Regions from separate parts of the Homo sapiens genome. Here all the other regions are linked to region 1. The links are contacts of gene promoters, found by promoter capture Hi-C in human tissues and cell types (Jung and others, 2019). All regions are on one chromosome and are shown on one strand. Each heading gives the region's core, a stretch centred on a gene start or on the middle of the fragment in contact. The rest is flanking DNA. Distances are from core to core; before and after follow the strand shown. Region 1 holds the start of FBXL14 (F-box and leucine rich repeat protein 14). Region 2 overlaps ERC1 (ELKS/RAB6-interacting/CAST family member 1). Region 3 overlaps ERC1 (ELKS/RAB6-interacting/CAST family member 1). Region 4 overlaps ERC1 (ELKS/RAB6-interacting/CAST family member 1). Region 5 overlaps ERC1 (ELKS/RAB6-interacting/CAST family member 1). Region 6 overlaps ERC1 (ELKS/RAB6-interacting/CAST family member 1).

Region 1 (2,655 bases), core at 56-2,555:
TCACAGGAGCGCAGGTTGAGGCTGCGCAGGCTGCCCATGTGCGACAGGTGCAGGAGGCCAGCGTCCGAGATTCCCCCACAGAAGCTGAGGTTGAGGAGCCTCAGGCCCGTCAGCCCTCGGGAGATGTGCTTTAGAGAAAGATCTGTGAGCTTCTGGCAGTCCTGTAGCGTGAGCTGCTCCAGGCCCAGGCAGCCCTCCGCCGCGCTGCGCGTCATGCCGGCCAGGTGCCCGATGCCCACATCCGAAAGGTGGCGGCAGCTGCGGAGGTTAAGGCTCTTGAGGCGCTGCAGACCCCAGGCGATGAGCAGAAGGCCAGTGTTGGTGATGTTGCTGCAACCTCCCAGCTCCAGCACCTCCAGGCCCTTGAGGTACTGGGCTATGCGGCCCAGGCTGCTGTCAGTGATCTGCTTGCAGAGGCTCAGGTTGAGAGCGCGCAGGGAGCCGATCTCCTGCACAAACGCGTGGCCCAGCCCGTTGTCGGTGAGGTTGTAGCAGCCGCTGAGGTTGAGGCTCTCGATGTTGGCCATGCCCTGGATCACGTAGCTGAGGCTGCGGCGGAGGCTCAGGATCTGCACCCGGCGGATGCCCCGGGCCTGCAGGCTGGGGAACAGCGACGGGTTGGCCCGGCGCAGGTGCAGCTTGGCCTCCACCCCCCGCCACACCGACTTGTGGTAGGCGGCGTCCCGCCAGGCGGTGCACACCTGCGCCGCGCGCCCCTTGTCCCGGACGTCCAGGTAGCCGAAGATCATGGCCAGCAGCTCCGGGAACAGGCATGAGATGTGGGTCTCCATCTTCCTCCTCCCCCCTCCGCGGCGCTGGGGGGAGGAGGCGCGGGCCCCGCCGCTCCGGCCTCGGGCAGGCGACGAGAGCGCTTCTCCCCAGCCGCCGCCGCCGCCGCCGCCGCCGCCTCGGGCCCAACGGCCGGCCCCTCCCCGCCTTCCGGCTCCGGCCGCCGCCGCCGCTCCTCCTCCTGGTCCGTCCGTCCTTCCTTCCTGCCGGCTGCGCCTCCGGCCCGGCCCTCCCCCGCCCCGGGCTCCGCACGGCGCTCACATCCCGGGCGGGGAAGGCGCCTCGCTCTCGCTCCCGGAGGCCGGCCGCCGCCGCCGCCTCGGCTCTACCCACGCCGCGCCCGGGCCGCGCCGCTCCGCCCGCGCCGCCGCGCCCACGCCCCCTGCCGCATCCTCCGCCTCCTGCCGCCGCCGCTGCTCCGCGGGCCGGCGGGCGGCGAGGGGGCCCCGGGGGCCGGGCGCACGGGCTCCGGGCGCGGAGGAGGCTTCCTGCTGCCTTTGTCTCTCGCCCGCTTTTCAAACCTCCCAGCCCCGGGCCGCCCGCACTCCGCCGCCCAGGCGGGGGGACCAGGAGGCCAATCCCGGCCGGCGGCGTGCGTTCCTTCTCCCCCGCCGTCCGCGGCCACTTGGGAGCTGCCGGCCCCCGCACCAAGGACGCCGCGGCCGTCCGGCCGGAGCGCGGCTCGGCGCAGACCCCGGGCGAGCAGGCGGGCCGTGCGTTTGGTAGCGCCCGGGCCGGCCCCGGCTCCGCCGCCCTGCAGCGCGTCCCCTCCGCCGCTCCCGCTCCCCCGCGCCCGCGCAATGGTACGGGCCTGCGCTGCCGGAACTGTGGAGCCGTTGCCCTGGAAACCGAGTTCGGCCTGGTCCCGTGGCCCCTGATTTTTAACCCTGTGGGCGCCACGGGGGAGCGGCAGCTGTCAGCAGAGCGCCTCCCCACCCGGCTTCTTTTCACCCGGTAGCCCGTTATTGAGCCGTTCCCTCTCTGGGCCACGCCCCAGCCCCGTTCCTTCTTTTTCTTTGCTGTTGAAGTCTGCGCAGCCCCTTCCCACAGTTTACCCCTGCAATTCGTTACCCTTATTTCACACCCCTCTCCCTTGATTATCCCTGCGAGAGCCGCCTCCTATAGCAGTGCTCAATAATCGTCACCCCAACTCTCCTTTTCTTACTGTCCCTAATGCCCCTTAACGCCTCATTATCACACCCCCTGCTCCCCCGGTTGGGGCTGTTTACTACGACGCCTTTCTCTCCAGTCTTGTGTCTTAAATTGGAGAGAAACTCGGCTGTACTCATCTTAAACAATGACCCCCTCCAGTCGGTGTTCTAGAAATTTCTAGAATTATCCATGACTACTTCCTTCTAGCATCTTCTGATGGTTTCCAGACACGCTGTGTGTGTTTCCCTCGGTACTTGATACATCAAAACTTCCCTCTACTTCTGAACGCTGCTGCGCCACCAATGCCCTCAGTCCGCTTTGCTTACAGGGGAACAGCCTTCCCCTAAGCCTTGTTTTAGGAGCTTTCTCCTTGTCATCAGCCTTAGACTATCAGTTGTATGGCTCAGTTGTACTGATAGTCAATATATTCGTATATGCTGAATCCAATTTACTTTTTGATTAAAATGGAATGACAGTTGAACTTGGTTTAAGACAATCCAGTCGTGTCTGTTGGTTTATCAACCGTTTTATGGAAGCAGGGCACAATTCCATTCTAGGATGTAGCCCCTGGGTCCTAAATGTCCGTACTAAGGATAGAATTTCAGAAGTTTCATTTTAACTACCCCCAAACCAAGAATTTTTGGATCAGAGAAAATGATCCTCTGTATTTTAATTTATGGATCCACACAACTAGATACAAGACCAGCGGATTTA
Region 2 (2,655 bases), core at 49-2,548, 440 kb before region 1:
CTTGAAGAATGCATGAACTCGGAGAAGGGAAAACAAACGGATCACTGTGAGTTTGCCAAGCGGGGCAGGTGTTCGAAGCCCCTCCCTGGCCGTGCGTGTGGAATGCTGGGCTTGCCCTCCTGGGCCCTCCTTTCTTCACATGGTCGGATTTTGGCCTACATAATCACAGGCCCCAGCCCTGCGCCTTCCCCTGGCCCTTTCCCTTCCTGCACTTTTGGGATACTCCATTTCTTTTTTTGTTAATTAATAACTTTATTCGTTTGGAGTAGTTTGGGAAGTTCCCAAGTGTACCTGAATAATGTACATTGTATTCAATAGGTAATTTTTCATTTCTCCCCTGCCTGCCTCCCCCTGCTCTGAGTCTCTAGTGTCCGTTATACCACTCTGTATGCCTTTGGGTACTCAGCACTGCCTCCCTCTTATGAGTGAGAACATGCAGTATTTGGTTTTCCATTCCTGAGTTACTTCACTTAGGATGATGGCCTCCAGTTCCATCCAGGTTGCTGCAAAAGACATGATTTCATTCTTTTTTTCATGGCCGAGTAGTATTCCATGGTGTGTGTGTGTATGTATATGTATATGTATATGTATATGTATATGTATATGTATATGTGTATATATACACATATACATGTATATATACACACACACGTGCATATATATGTGTGTGTGTATATATATATACACACATACCCATGTGTGTTTATACACACACACACACACACACACACACACTTTCTGTCTCTTGCCATATACAAAAATTAACCTAGGTGGATTAAAGACTTAATCTAAGACCCGAAACCATAAAAATTCTGGAAGATAACACAGGGAAAACTCCTCTGAACATTGGCTCAGGCGAAGGATTTATGACAAGGATCTCAAAAGCACAACAAAATAAAAATGAATAAATGGGACTTAATGGACTTAATTAAACTAAAAAGCTTCTGTACAGCAAAATAAATAATCAAAAGAGTAAATAGACCACCTACAGAATGGGAGAAAATATTTGCATCATATTCAACAAAATATTAATATCCACAGTCTACAAGGAACTTAAATCAACAAGAAAAAAAAATAATCCCATAAAAAATGGGCAAATAGCATGAATAGACATTTCTCAAAAGAAGATATACAAATGCCCAAAAATGTATGAAAAAATGCTCAGCATCACTAATCATCAGGGAAATGCAAATTAAAATGACAGTGAGATACCACCCTACCCCATCCAGAAGGGCTATTATTAAAAAGTTAAAAAATAATAGCTGGTATCATGGATGTGGTGAAAAGAGAACTCTTACACACTGTTGGAGCAAACGTAAATTAGTACAACCTTTATGGAAAACTGTATGGATATTTTTCAAAGAACTAAAAGTACATTTATCATTTCAGGCTGGGCGTAGTGGCTCACACCTGTAGTCCCAGCACTTAGGGAGGCCGAGGCAGATGGATCACCTGTGGTCAGGAGTTCAAGACAAACCTGGCAACATGGCCAACGTGGCGAAACCCCATATCTACTAAAAATAAAAAAATCTGATGGGCATATTGGTACGTGCCTGTAGTCTCAGCTACTTGGGAGGCTGAGACACGAGAATTGCTTGGACCTGGGAGGCAGAGGTTGCAGTGAGCCTGGATCGTGCCACTGCACTCACAGGGCGAGACTTCATCTCAAAAAAAAAAAAAAAAAAAAAAAAGATTTATCATTTCATCCAGCAGTCCCACTACTAGGAGTCTACCCAAAGGAAAAGAAGTCATTCTGAAAAAAAAGACATCTATGATATGGAATCAACCTAAGTGCCCATCAACCAATGAATGGATAAAGAAAATTAAACTTTCCTTTTTTTTTTTTGAGACGGAGTCTCGCTCTGTCGCCCAGGCTGGATTGCAGTGGCGCCATCTCGGCTCACTGCAAGCTCCACCTCCCTGGGTTCACACCATTCTCCTGCCTCAGCTTCCTGAGTAGCTGGGACCACAGGCACGTGCCACCACGCCCGGCTAATTTTTTGTATTTTTAGTAGAGACGGGGTTTCACCATGTTAGGTGGTCTCGATTTCCTGACCTCGTGATCTGCCTGCCTCAGCCTCCCAAAGTGCTGGGATTACAGGCGTGAGCCACCGCGCCCTGCTGATAAGTATTTTTTTAAAAGCCCTGAGAAATGACAATGTAGGATTTAAAAAATGACTTGTATTAACAGTATGAGAGTAATATGTGTTCAAGGTAAAAAAAAAATAAATAAATAAAAATAAAAATTACCAAAACATATGGAGTGAAATTAAAGTTCCTTCTCCCATCCTTTGCTCCTCTCAGTGCAGTTCTTTAGGGTTATTAACTGTTGTTAACAGTTCTTTGTGTGCCGTTTCATAAAGTTTCTATGCATATCAAGCATTTATGTGTTATATACCTTTTAAAAAACAACTGGAATCATACTTTTTATTAATTTAAAAATAAACATTTTAATATCATCTTATATACAGCTTTATCTCATCTTAAAAAATATCTACATGGTTTTCTGAATCATACTTCTACCATAATTTAACTAAATTTAACCTAAGATTTACAGGTAGATGAAGATAGGGGTTTTTCTTATTTTATTTTATTTATTTTATTTTTTTGAGACAGAGTCTCACTCTGTCGCCCAGGCTGGAGTGCAGTGGTGCA
Region 3 (2,655 bases), core at 112-2,611, 360 kb before region 1:
ACAGAGTGAGACCCTGTCTCAAAAAAAAAAAAAAAAAAAAAAAGAGTAAGAAAACCAGACATTATATTATATGCTGTCAGATGTGAGGCAATGTCAGTTATACAACACCATTAATTATTATTTTTACCTAAAAATGAAAATTGAATATATTCAAGTCTTTAAAGCTAATATTCAGTATCAAAACAAACAAAAAGCAAGAGATATAGAGAAACAAGTTGAATTTCATCATGAAGAAGCAAACATACAATCCAGAATGTGAGTCGTTGTATGGAATAATTGATTTCCTTTTTAAAAAAATCACTGGCATTCAAAAAGGGTACATTGGAGGAGGTAAGAGACTTTTCTCTAGATTAGTAGGGATTTGAAGGATCTGACAATAAGCACAATGTATGGGCGTTTTTTGTATTTTGATTCAAATAAAGTAGCCGTAAGAAATAAACTTTGATTCAAATGGGGAAATTTGAATATGGACTATATATTATACTGATATTGAGGAATTGTTAATTTTGTTACAATTTACGTTGTTAAACATGCTCTTTTTTGGAGATGCATCAGGAAGCATGTATAAGGGTATAATGACATGATATCTGGAATTTTAAATGATGGCAAAACGTATAATGTACATAGAAATAAAATATATACACATTTTTTATGGAGGAAAATATAATGCTTTGTTAGCCTTTTAAGGAGACCTAAACAAATAGATAAACACACTGACCAGTTTTCAACCTAACGATAGTGCAAAAGTGATACACGTTCAGTAAAACCACACTTTGAATTTTGATCTTTTCCTGTGCTATTGGTATGTAATATGATACTCTCTTGTGATGCTGGACAGTGGCAGTGAGCCACAGATCCCAGTTAGCCACACAACCAGGAGAGTAAACAACTGCTACTTTCCAGATTAGGTGTTTTAAATGCATTTTGGACTTAGGATATTTTCAACTTATGGTGGGTTTATTGGGATATAGCCCAATGGTAAGTTGAGGAGCATCTGTAGTATGTTAATGAATTGAAAGATCCAAAAGCATGAAGTTTTTCCCAAACTGACATTGCTTCAATGTGATTGGAATCAAAATCCCAGAGGCTGCTGTTGGGTTTTTTGTTGCTGTAGTTGGTTGGTTGGTTTGGTGGAACTTGACGGGCTAGTTCTGAAATTTCTATGAGAAGCGTAAAGCGCCAAGAACAGCCAAGAGAGTTTTGAAGAAGAAAAAGGTAGGGAGCCTTGCCTTGCTAATTACTTTTTGTAAAGGTATAGTAATTAAGGTGGTATAGATCTGGCACAGAAATATACAAACATAGCCACAAAACAGGTACACATGCATATAGAAACTTTGTACACACCAGAAGTGGCAATGCATGTAAATATTCCTGGGAAAATTCATTATAAATACATGTAAAAAATGAAATATTATTATGTTATACCAAACCCCCCAAAATGGAAGTATGTTTTTACCTCATAACATATGCAACCTCGGTTTCAGATGGATTAATGACTGCAACGTGAAAGACAAAGTTAACGTCGTTTTAGGGGAATATCTTTATGAACTTTGATGGACAAGATTTTGTGGAAATGTCACAAAATTGTATATTATAAAGGAGAAGATTGATACATTTGAAACAATTAAAAGTTTTAGGCTGGACATGGTGACTCATGCCTGTAATCCCAACACTGGGAGGCAGAGGCCAGTGGATTGCTTGAGTCCAGGAGTTCAAGACCAGCATAGGCAACATAGTGAAACCTCATCTCTACTACAAATTAGCTGGGTGTGGTGGCATGTGCCTGTAATTCCAGCTGTTCAGGAGGCTGAGGTGGGAGAATCACCTGAGCCTGGGGGGTCAAGGCTGCAGTGAGCGGAGATTGTGCCACTGCACACTAGCCTTGGCGACTGAGTGAGATCCCATCTCGGAAGAAAAATAAAATTGAATTCTATCGATGAAAAGATGTAAAGAAATCATAGACTAGAAGAAAATACTTACATAACATATAACGGATAAAGTATTATTATCTATAATGTATAAAGAATACCTATAAGTCATTAAGAAAAAGATATGTTAATTTAAAAAGTGGAGAAAGACACAAATAGCTATTTCACAGAAGTGGAAACAGGAATGGCCAAATACTGTATGATAAGATATTCAGCCTAGGTGGTTAGAAACATGCATTGTAAAACTATAATGAGGTACTATTTTTTTTCTACCCTATTGGAAACATTTAGAAAGTCAGTACCATGTATTAATGGATGTGGAGAGGTATAATGGCCAACAGTTGTGCACAGCTAGCAAGAGTATAAATTAATATAGCTTCTTGGAAAATAAAATAAAATAAGGTGTACCTACTGTATTTCCTAGCAATTCAGTTCCTAGGCCTATACCTTAGAGATATTCCTGCCCAGGTATATCAGAGTGCACCTAGCAGCATTATTTAAAATGGCAAGAAGATGGAAACAATGCAATTGTCATCTTCTGGGGAGTAGATTAAAGTAATTGCCATATATTATTTCATACCTCAGTGAAAGTGGAGAAGATTAAAAGATACATTACACTCTGAATGGTCTAAGTCTCGAAACCTATTGAAAGGGAATAATATTGAATATCATTCTGTACTAAAAAGAAAAATGAATAATTATTTATCTTTATAAAGCTCAAAAACAT
Region 4 (2,655 bases), core at 81-2,580, 340 kb before region 1:
TCTAATTTATAATCATAGTCACAAGAAAATATTTTATTAGAGTTCAAATCACTTGCAGAGTTTATTCTGAATAATTCCTGACATAATGCATATCTTGCTGGTTTCACATTCAGTGAAATGCTGAGCCATATCTCAATTCTGTAGTCTCCATAATATCTGCCTTTATATTTTAGGTATGTTTGGGTTCCATTTTAATATAGTCTCATACCAACAGCTGTGTTTTTATAATTGAGGTCCTGTTAGCCTAAAAGGCATTTTTCTTGGAGAAGAAATTTTGTCTTCATTGATAATCCAGTTTTGTTATACTGGAGCTACATCCTCAGGTTCTATAATACCCATCCTTCAGTTTGACTCCAAGTCATCCTTACCTCCTGGCGTTCATGCCCTTGTGTAGTCCTCTCCCGCACCCTGTCAGGATTGGTCTGTATGAACCGTACAAGAAGGCAGAAGTGATGGCGCCGGCTTCTGAAGCTACATCACAAAAGATACTGATGCAACTGCCTTGCACTCCTGAATCACTTGCCCTGGTGAGAGCCAGCCTCCGTGTTGTAATGACACTCAAGCAGCCCGGTGGAGAGGAACAGAGGCCTCTTGCCACTAGCTGCACCACCTTGCCAGCCATGTAAGTGGAAGCAAAGGACTGAATCCTGGTTGACATCTTGACTACCACCTCATAAGAGACCCTGGCACCAGAACTGTTTAGCTAAGCTGCTTTTGAGTTCTTGACCCACACAAACTGTGTGAGATAATCAGTATTCACTGTTTTCTTAAGCTGCTAAGTTTCGAAGTAACTCATTAATACAACAATGAACAATGATTACAGATATTTTATATTTTTAGTATTAAGGTGATCTACCATAGTCTGATTTTTCCCCTCTAAATCCACAGTTTGGTTTTCTCTGTTAGAGTAATAAATGCTATTTTAAATTGTTTTATTCATATTATCACCATGGTAATTATCAGGGTTGGGTAACATTGGAGCTTTTGTTGGTGTTTATTACCTATATAACTCATATTTGTCTGCTGACAGCCTGTAAGCTGGGAAAAGAGTTACAAATGTATGTAAAACATGATGTGTCATATAGCCTTTTATAGATTTATTTCCTATGTAAAAAACTGCTCTAACTAGTGCCACATTCTCCAGTAGAAATACAATGTGAGCCACACGTATAATTTTGAATTTTCTAATAGTCTCATTAAAAAAACTAAAAGGAAACATTAATTTTAATAATGTTTTCTTTAATCAAATATATCCAAAATATTATTTCAACATATAATCAATATGAAAATTATTAAAGAAGTGTTGTACCTCCTTTTTTTAAGACTAAGTTTTTGAAATTTAGGTGTGTTTATAGCACATCTCAGTTTGGACTAGCCACGTTTAATCACCCAGTAGCTAGTTGTTGCTAGTGGCTTCTGCATTGGACAGTACAAATAGTATATTAGCTAAAGAAGAATATTTTCTTCTAAGCTAGCGGCAGATTAAGAATGCCTATAAACAACAGGTATGATTTTCTCAAATTAAGTGTGGCATGTCCTATCTTAATCTCTAGCTACATTTAGTTCCAGTAAGTCAACTTCCTAATTTCCAGATGCTTCAGATCCTTCAAACCTAAGGAATATAGGGATAGGAGGAATTAGGGATAGTACATAGTATATGTAGATTTCTTCAGCATTACAGACTCAGAATGGCTCTTACTGTCTCATAGTTTATCATGAAGGTTGGTGAATATGGACTTTTTGAAGGAGAAAATGTACTTTAGCATGTAAAGCATGTATTCCAAGCCTCAGGCTACACATGGTAGAATCACTCTTACACTTGGGCCACCAGGAAGCACTTTCCAGGGGTTTTAGCACATCCCCTTACTTCATCGATGTGGTCCTCAGAGCAGAAGTATGTGAAGTCTGTTGCATTTCATGATTCTCAAGTCTAATATGACATCTTATTGGCTCACTCACTTTCAAGGAAGCTGGTGACAACTGTCACTTCTTCAACTCAAAGTCTGGCATTGACAGATTAGAGATTTTTAAATCTTCAGAATCTTCAGGATTTATGGAAGAACTTACTGTGATAATATTGTCCCTTTTAAAAAATGTTGTTATTTAGAACATCCCATGGTTATCAAAAGACTTGAAAGGAATTTCTTATCATAATTCTGACCCACTTCTGTAAAATATTGCCGTGAAGAAATTCATAGGACTTTTGAATAAAAAGCTGAAGAGCACAATGATGTATAATCCATACATGTTTTGTTCTCTTTACCTTTCTTTTTTCTGATCATGAGCACTGCCTGAAGATGTGTTTGCCTGGTCTGCTTTTCTCTTTTCACAGTAAACAGTTAACTTACATATTTAGATATCAGTTATCTAAACAATGACACTTGTAACTATTTCCAGAAGGTCTTTAGATCCCTATTGATTTCTTCATAGTGCAAGATACTCTTTTAACATATTTTTCAATTTTCTTTTGATTTTATATCAGAACTATGTATTTTATATTATTTACACAAATAATACTTACATGTCTTAGAATAATAGTCACTTCTCTTATTCTTTTCTAACTCTGATTCCTCTTCCTCTGAGATGACCACTTTCATCTCTTTTGGTTGTTTCTACTGTTGTTTATTTTTATCTTTCCAAATGACATTCTTATAT
Region 5 (2,655 bases), core at 49-2,548, 300 kb before region 1:
CATAAAGTCTTGTAATTGATGCAGTTGGCTGTTTGATTACATTTGCTTCTGAATTAAAATGAACAAGTTTATTTAAATAATTCTGATTTGGTAGCCACCTGGAATAAGTGGAAATTACTGATAAAGTACTTACCTTGCTCTCTTAGTTTCTTTTCCTTATGTTTTAGCATTTTGTCTGTCTTCTCTGGTGGCTTTTTGTTTGTTGTTTTTCAGGTCTGTTGCTGTCAAGGCTTTTTTTTTTTCCCCATGTCATTTTTAAAGCATTCTGTCTCCTTTCTATCTGGTATGTACACACACACACACACACACACACACACACACACACACACACACACATAACTATATAGGTATATAGGGATATATTTCCTTCCTGCCTATATAATATATAGTATATATATAATATATATATATACACTGCCTATGTAGTATATAGGTATATATATGCCTGTATAGTTATATAGGTATATAGGGTTATATTTCCTTCCTGCCTTCCTTAAAAAAGAAACCCTACCTACCTGGATTTAGAGCAAGAAATTGTCTGATTGAATTCTAGCAGTTTCTTTAAAAAGAAATTCTTCTTAATGATGTAAATAGGAAAATTTTAGTTTAGAGGACTAAAAATTATTCGTCTATGTATACAGGAAATCTGTTATTTGCCAAGTTTATGTCTTTTATTTCCTAAAATCGTTCTGTATATTTTTTTATATTTGTATTGTATTATTTCCATGGAAATTTCTGGGTCATTTCCAAAGAACTTCCTTAAAAGGTATTGTCTGTGGCAGCGTGCGACTTCTTAAACTGATAACTTGTATGCCCTTGCATGTATTAAGTTCTTTCTGACCTAAGCTGAAAAGAATTATACTGTAGGGATGTTATTATCTGCTATATTGATTCTTGATATATACACACACATAACTGATCCAGAAAGAGTACAGAATTTTCAATGTGTTCCTGCGTCTCTTCAATTTTCTGGACCCAGGAGTTGCGTGTTACCCAGGTCCTCTGACTCTGATTGATCAAGACACTCTGTTGTTCTCTTTCCCATATTTATGATAGGTGGAGGAGTTACTGATGGCCATGGAGAAGGTAAAGCAGGAACTAGAATCCATGAAAGCAAAGCTGTCCTCCACCCAGCAGTCTCTGGCAGAAAAGGAAACTCACTTGACTAATCTTCGGGCAGAGAGAAGGAAACACTTAGAGGAAGTTCTGGAGATGAAGTAAGTGTTTGTAGTCTTATTCTTCAAGCATATGCTTAGTGGAAATACTTTTTCTCCCTGCATTCATCTTCTGGCTCTGTGTTTTACCCCAATACACTTACTTAATTTTAGTGCTAACTTGTATTTCTCACTCTCTAGAATAAATTTGGTCAAAGGTGGAACAAATCCTGATCAAATAGAAATATTTTTGGTTCCTCTTTAATGATTTTTAAATCCTCTGGCTTATACATATCTGTGTGTAATTACCTCTCTGAAATTCCTAAAATCTTCTGGAAAGTTCAGGCAAAATGGCGAGCTTACTGGGGAAGAGGGCTGTTGGTTCTGAGGTTGTATGAAGACTAGGCAATTTTTAAACACATTTTTTATTGTAAACATTTCCAAAGGTACACACAGGTAGAGAGAATGAACCCCCATATACCTGTCTCCAAGATTCAGTAGTTACCATTTTGCCACACTGGAAGCCAATTTTTAGAAAATTGTCACTTTTAGCAGAGCTTTGCTATACACATTTTCCTGCTTCCCCCACATTTTGTAGGTTGCTGAGACCATAATCTGTTGTGAAGCATGTATACATCTGCTAATACATAGTAGATGTTTCTTTTACTTCTCAGTGACCTTCTGTTTAAAACAAACATGTGTCTTTTGAAAATCCAGTTGTACCCTCTCATTTACCATTCCTAATCCTTCCCCTTACCTAAAGACCCTACTGCTATTTTACTGAAACCAGGTCTATCCTGGGATCCCTCAGTTACCCTCAGTTACCCTCGTTCTGTGAGCAGTTATCTTTATTTTTGTTGTCTTCTTTTCTGTCTCAGAGAATAGGTTTTTTTCTCCTTCATAAGGCCAGATTCTTCTTTCTGTCACAGATTTCAAGTCCCCGCCTCAGCAGCCTTTCACTGTCAGTTCTTTCTCACGTGACCCTTGCTCACTTCTTCTCTGCATAAATGCACAGTCTGTCTTTGGCCTAAAATAAAATTTTTTCACTCCAACTAGTGCTTTAAACTGACATCAGTTTACTTTTCTGCTACTTTGAACTATCAGTAAACTTTGAATACCTGAATAATAGAGCTGTACAGAATCTTGCCATAATACCTTAGCATGAATTCTCATGGGACATGATGATTGTGATATTGTGACTGCAACCCAAGAATGTTGAGGTGTCCTCTGTGCTTTCACGTTCTTGGGCTATAGTGCAAGGCTACGAGATTCTGTCCTTTTAGAAAAGCATTATGAGTGATATGTCTTGGAAGTAATGTGTAAGTGAAGCCGGAAGTGGATTGGCATAGGGGGAGAATTAAGAGAGGTTAGAGTTCCGAGTAGCATCATCAGAAAAAAGCTTGCAGGTTTAAGTAGAGAAAGGAAAGTCCTCCCTGTGACTGTTGGCAATGACACTAGATTCTTCACTCTGTAGTCACTGCAGGACCCACCATATTTTAAA
Region 6 (2,655 bases), core at 96-2,595, 280 kb before region 1:
TCACCGTGTTAGGCAGATGGTCTTGATCTCCTGACCTCGTGATCCACCCGCCTCGGCCTCCCAAAGTGCTGGGATTACTGGCTTGAGCCACCGCGCCCGGCTGGTAAACATCTTTTTATAGCTAATGGGCACTTTTAGGCTAACTGAGCAGTGAACACTATTAAATATATGAGAAGCTTTTTAAACCACCTTCCACTTAATTCATAACTACTTGTCAGGTTGAGACTTTCTTTTCTCTGTTAACCATGCCAATTTTTGCTCAGAGCATGCTGAAAAAGCTACTAGATTACTGTCACATATACCAGGCATGGCTCTGTTAACCTGTTTAGTTGTATTATTGCTGAAAAGTTATTTATTCCAGCTATTCTTGATATTTTAATTATATATTTTTATTATTATAAGAAACCAATGACATACTCATATGAAAAAATATCTCTGTGAAATAAAGCAAAATGTTTTGGAAAAGGGATGCAGGTAAGTCATTTCAAAATTGCTGTTGTTAATGCGGGAGAGGATTTGGAAAAATAGGAACGCTTTTATACTGTTGGTGGGAGTGTAAATTAGTTCAACCATTGTGGAAGACACTGTGGCGATTCCTCAAGGATCTAGAACCAGAAATACCATTTGACCCAGCAATCCCATTACTGGATATATACCCAAAGGATTATAAATCATGCTGCTATAAAGACACATGCACACGTATGTTTATTGCAGCACTGTTCACAATAGCAAAGACTTGGAACCAAACCAAATGCCCATCAATGATAGACTGGATAAAGAAAATGTGGCACGTGGCCAGGCATGGCGGCTCATGCCTGTAATCCCAGCACTTTGGGAGGCCGAGGCGGGTGGATCACCTGAGGTCAGGAGTTCAAGACCAGCCTGGCCAACATGGTGAAACCCCATCTCTACTAAAAATACCAAAAATTAGCTGGGTGTAGTGGCAGGCACCTGTAATCCCAGCTACTCAGGAGGCTGAGACAGGAGAATCGCTTGAATCCAGGAGGCAGAGGTTGCAGTGAGCCGAGGTCATGCCATTGCACTCCACCCTGGGCAACAAGAGAGAAACTCTGTCTCAAAAACGAAAAAAAAAAAAAAAGAAAATGTGTAACATATACACCATGGAATACTATGCAGCCATAAAAAAGGATGAGTTCATGTCCTTTGCAGGGACATGGATGAAGCTGGAAACCATCATTCTCAGCAAACTAACACAGGAACAGAAAACCAAACACCGCATGTTCTCACTCATAAGTGGGAGCTGAACCGTGAGAACACATGGACACAGGGAGGGGAACATCACACACGGCCTGTCGGGGGATCAGGGGCTAGGAAAGGGATAGCATTAGGAGAAATACCTAATGTAGATGATGGGTTGATGGGTGCAGCAAACCACCATGGCACATGTATACCTATGTAACAAACCTGCACGTTCTGCACGTGTATCCCAGAACTTAAAGTATAATTTTAAAAAAAGTAAATCCAAAAAAAAATTGCTGCTGTTGAATTAGGTTAACAGTTACTGAATATTGGGAGACTTTTTGAAACCTCACAGTTTGAAATTGGCATTGTATTTCAAATGTCTGCATACTGACTAGCCCCACTTTCACACAACCAGAGCTGAAAAGGATGTGAAAAAGACAATACTGAACCTAAGTCATCAGATTATATGGTGATCTTTGGATCTCGTCTAAATGAAAAACCAGCAAAGCAGCTTCAAAGCAGCAAAACACTCTCTATATACTTTCTTTATTCTTTAAGAAATATTTTAGTTAATCACCTAGCAGACTTGAGTGTCACATAAAGGGGCTTCTTCTATAGTTTCTCATAAATAATTTGCTGATTCTGGGAACTCTAAAAGGTAAATATTTTATGTAGCATGTGTATATTGTAAATTATTTATAAAAATGTTTTAAAAGACCTAATCCTGAAATAGTAAATAACTAAAAATTTACAAATACTATTCTCAAATAGTAAATAAGTATATATGAGCTTTCAAGTTAGAACTAAAATTTCCATGATGTGATATCTATTTTAAGATTTGTTTATCAAGGAATATTGTAATTTGGGAGGATTTTTTAAAAGCAGATTTTATTTTTTCTGCCCTTCACAAAAACTAAATCTGAGCCTTGGGAAATCAGGGCAGCTGCATCATGATGTGACTTGCCTGGGGTTTGGTATTTTGCTGAGATACCTGCCAGTTGGAATTAGAACCCTATGGGTATAACTAGGGTAGACTTAATTATTGGCTTACTGTATTTAAATCAAAATGAAAAGCTCATACAAAATTTTGTACCCGTACTCTGAAAAAATGTGGAACTGTTTTTGGACTAAAATTTTATAGCTTTTGTGGCTAATGAGGCATGAAATAAATTGGCAAGCTCAAACTGTTCGGAGTACAGTGGTACAGTGTGCATTTTCTAATTCCCAGCCCTTGGGATTCCAGCAAAGGTCACAAATTAAACAAAGTCAGGATTAATCAAGACTATAATCAAATAAAACTCAATCATTAATCCTCTTCTGACTTACAATAGAGTGATTGTGTAATTGTGTGAGAAGCACTGGAGAGGGCTCTTTTGTAGTGCGTAGGAAAATCAACATTAAGGTGTCAGACAGAAAAGTGAAACCCTGCAGGTGAAGCTGTCTCTGGAGCCA

What was found. Contacts are between HindIII fragments. The study calls those that stand out against the background at their distance.
Region 2: a contact is called between a fragment that was not itself captured here and the fragment with the promoter of FBXL14 in region 1, in 2 of the 25 tissues and cell types used here (dorsolateral prefrontal cortex and lymphoblastoid cells).
Region 3: a contact is called between a fragment that was not itself captured here and the fragment with the promoter of FBXL14 in region 1, in 1 of the 25 tissues and cell types used here (heart left ventricle).
Region 4: a fragment that was not itself captured here is called in contact with the fragment with the promoter of FBXL14 in region 1 in 1 of the 25 tissues and cell types used here (H1 embryonic stem cells).
Region 5: a contact is called between a fragment that was not itself captured here and the fragment with the promoter of FBXL14 in region 1, in 1 of the 25 tissues and cell types used here (dorsolateral prefrontal cortex).
Region 6: a contact is called between a fragment that was not itself captured here and the fragment with the promoter of FBXL14 in region 1, in 2 of the 25 tissues and cell types used here (aorta and hippocampus).

Annotation. Positions count from the first base shown.
Region 1 is chr12:1,593,276-1,595,930 of GRCh38, forward strand. FBXL14 (F-box and leucine rich repeat protein 14) reads right to left here and starts at 1,306. Exons shown (of 2, transcript NM_152441.3): 1 at 1-1,306. The coding sequence starts at 791. RefSeq lists enhancers at 381-570, 1,941-2,010 and a silencer at 811-1,680. The HindIII fragment of the contact is 15,118 bases long and covers 1-2,655 here.
Region 2 is chr12:1,153,648-1,156,302 of GRCh38, forward strand. The region is part of intron 8 of ERC1 (ELKS/RAB6-interacting/CAST family member 1); the gene reads left to right. Among named protein-coding and RNA genes, the nearest start is that of ERC1, 160 kb to the left of the region's middle. The HindIII fragment of the contact is 5,020 bases long and covers 1-2,655 here.
Region 3 is chr12:1,233,451-1,236,105 of GRCh38, forward strand. All of the region lies in intron 12 of ERC1 (ELKS/RAB6-interacting/CAST family member 1), which reads left to right. Among named protein-coding and RNA genes, the nearest start is that of ERC1, 240 kb to the left of the region's middle. The HindIII fragment of the contact is 3,512 bases long and covers 1-2,655 here.
Region 4 is chr12:1,256,616-1,259,270 of GRCh38, forward strand. All of the region lies in intron 13 of ERC1 (ELKS/RAB6-interacting/CAST family member 1), which reads left to right. Among named protein-coding and RNA genes, the nearest start is that of LINC00942, 240 kb to the right of the region's middle. The HindIII fragment of the contact is 7,878 bases long and covers 1-2,655 here.
Region 5 is chr12:1,288,796-1,291,450 of GRCh38, forward strand. It overlaps ERC1 (ELKS/RAB6-interacting/CAST family member 1), which reads left to right. Exons shown (of 19, transcript NM_178040.4): 15 at 1,057-1,217. Among named protein-coding and RNA genes, the nearest start is that of LINC00942, 210 kb to the right of the region's middle. The HindIII fragment of the contact is 6,117 bases long and covers 1-2,655 here.
Region 6 is chr12:1,316,085-1,318,739 of GRCh38, forward strand. All of the region lies in intron 15 of ERC1 (ELKS/RAB6-interacting/CAST family member 1), which reads left to right. Among named protein-coding and RNA genes, the nearest start is that of LINC00942, 180 kb to the right of the region's middle. The HindIII fragment of the contact is 5,493 bases long and covers 1-2,655 here.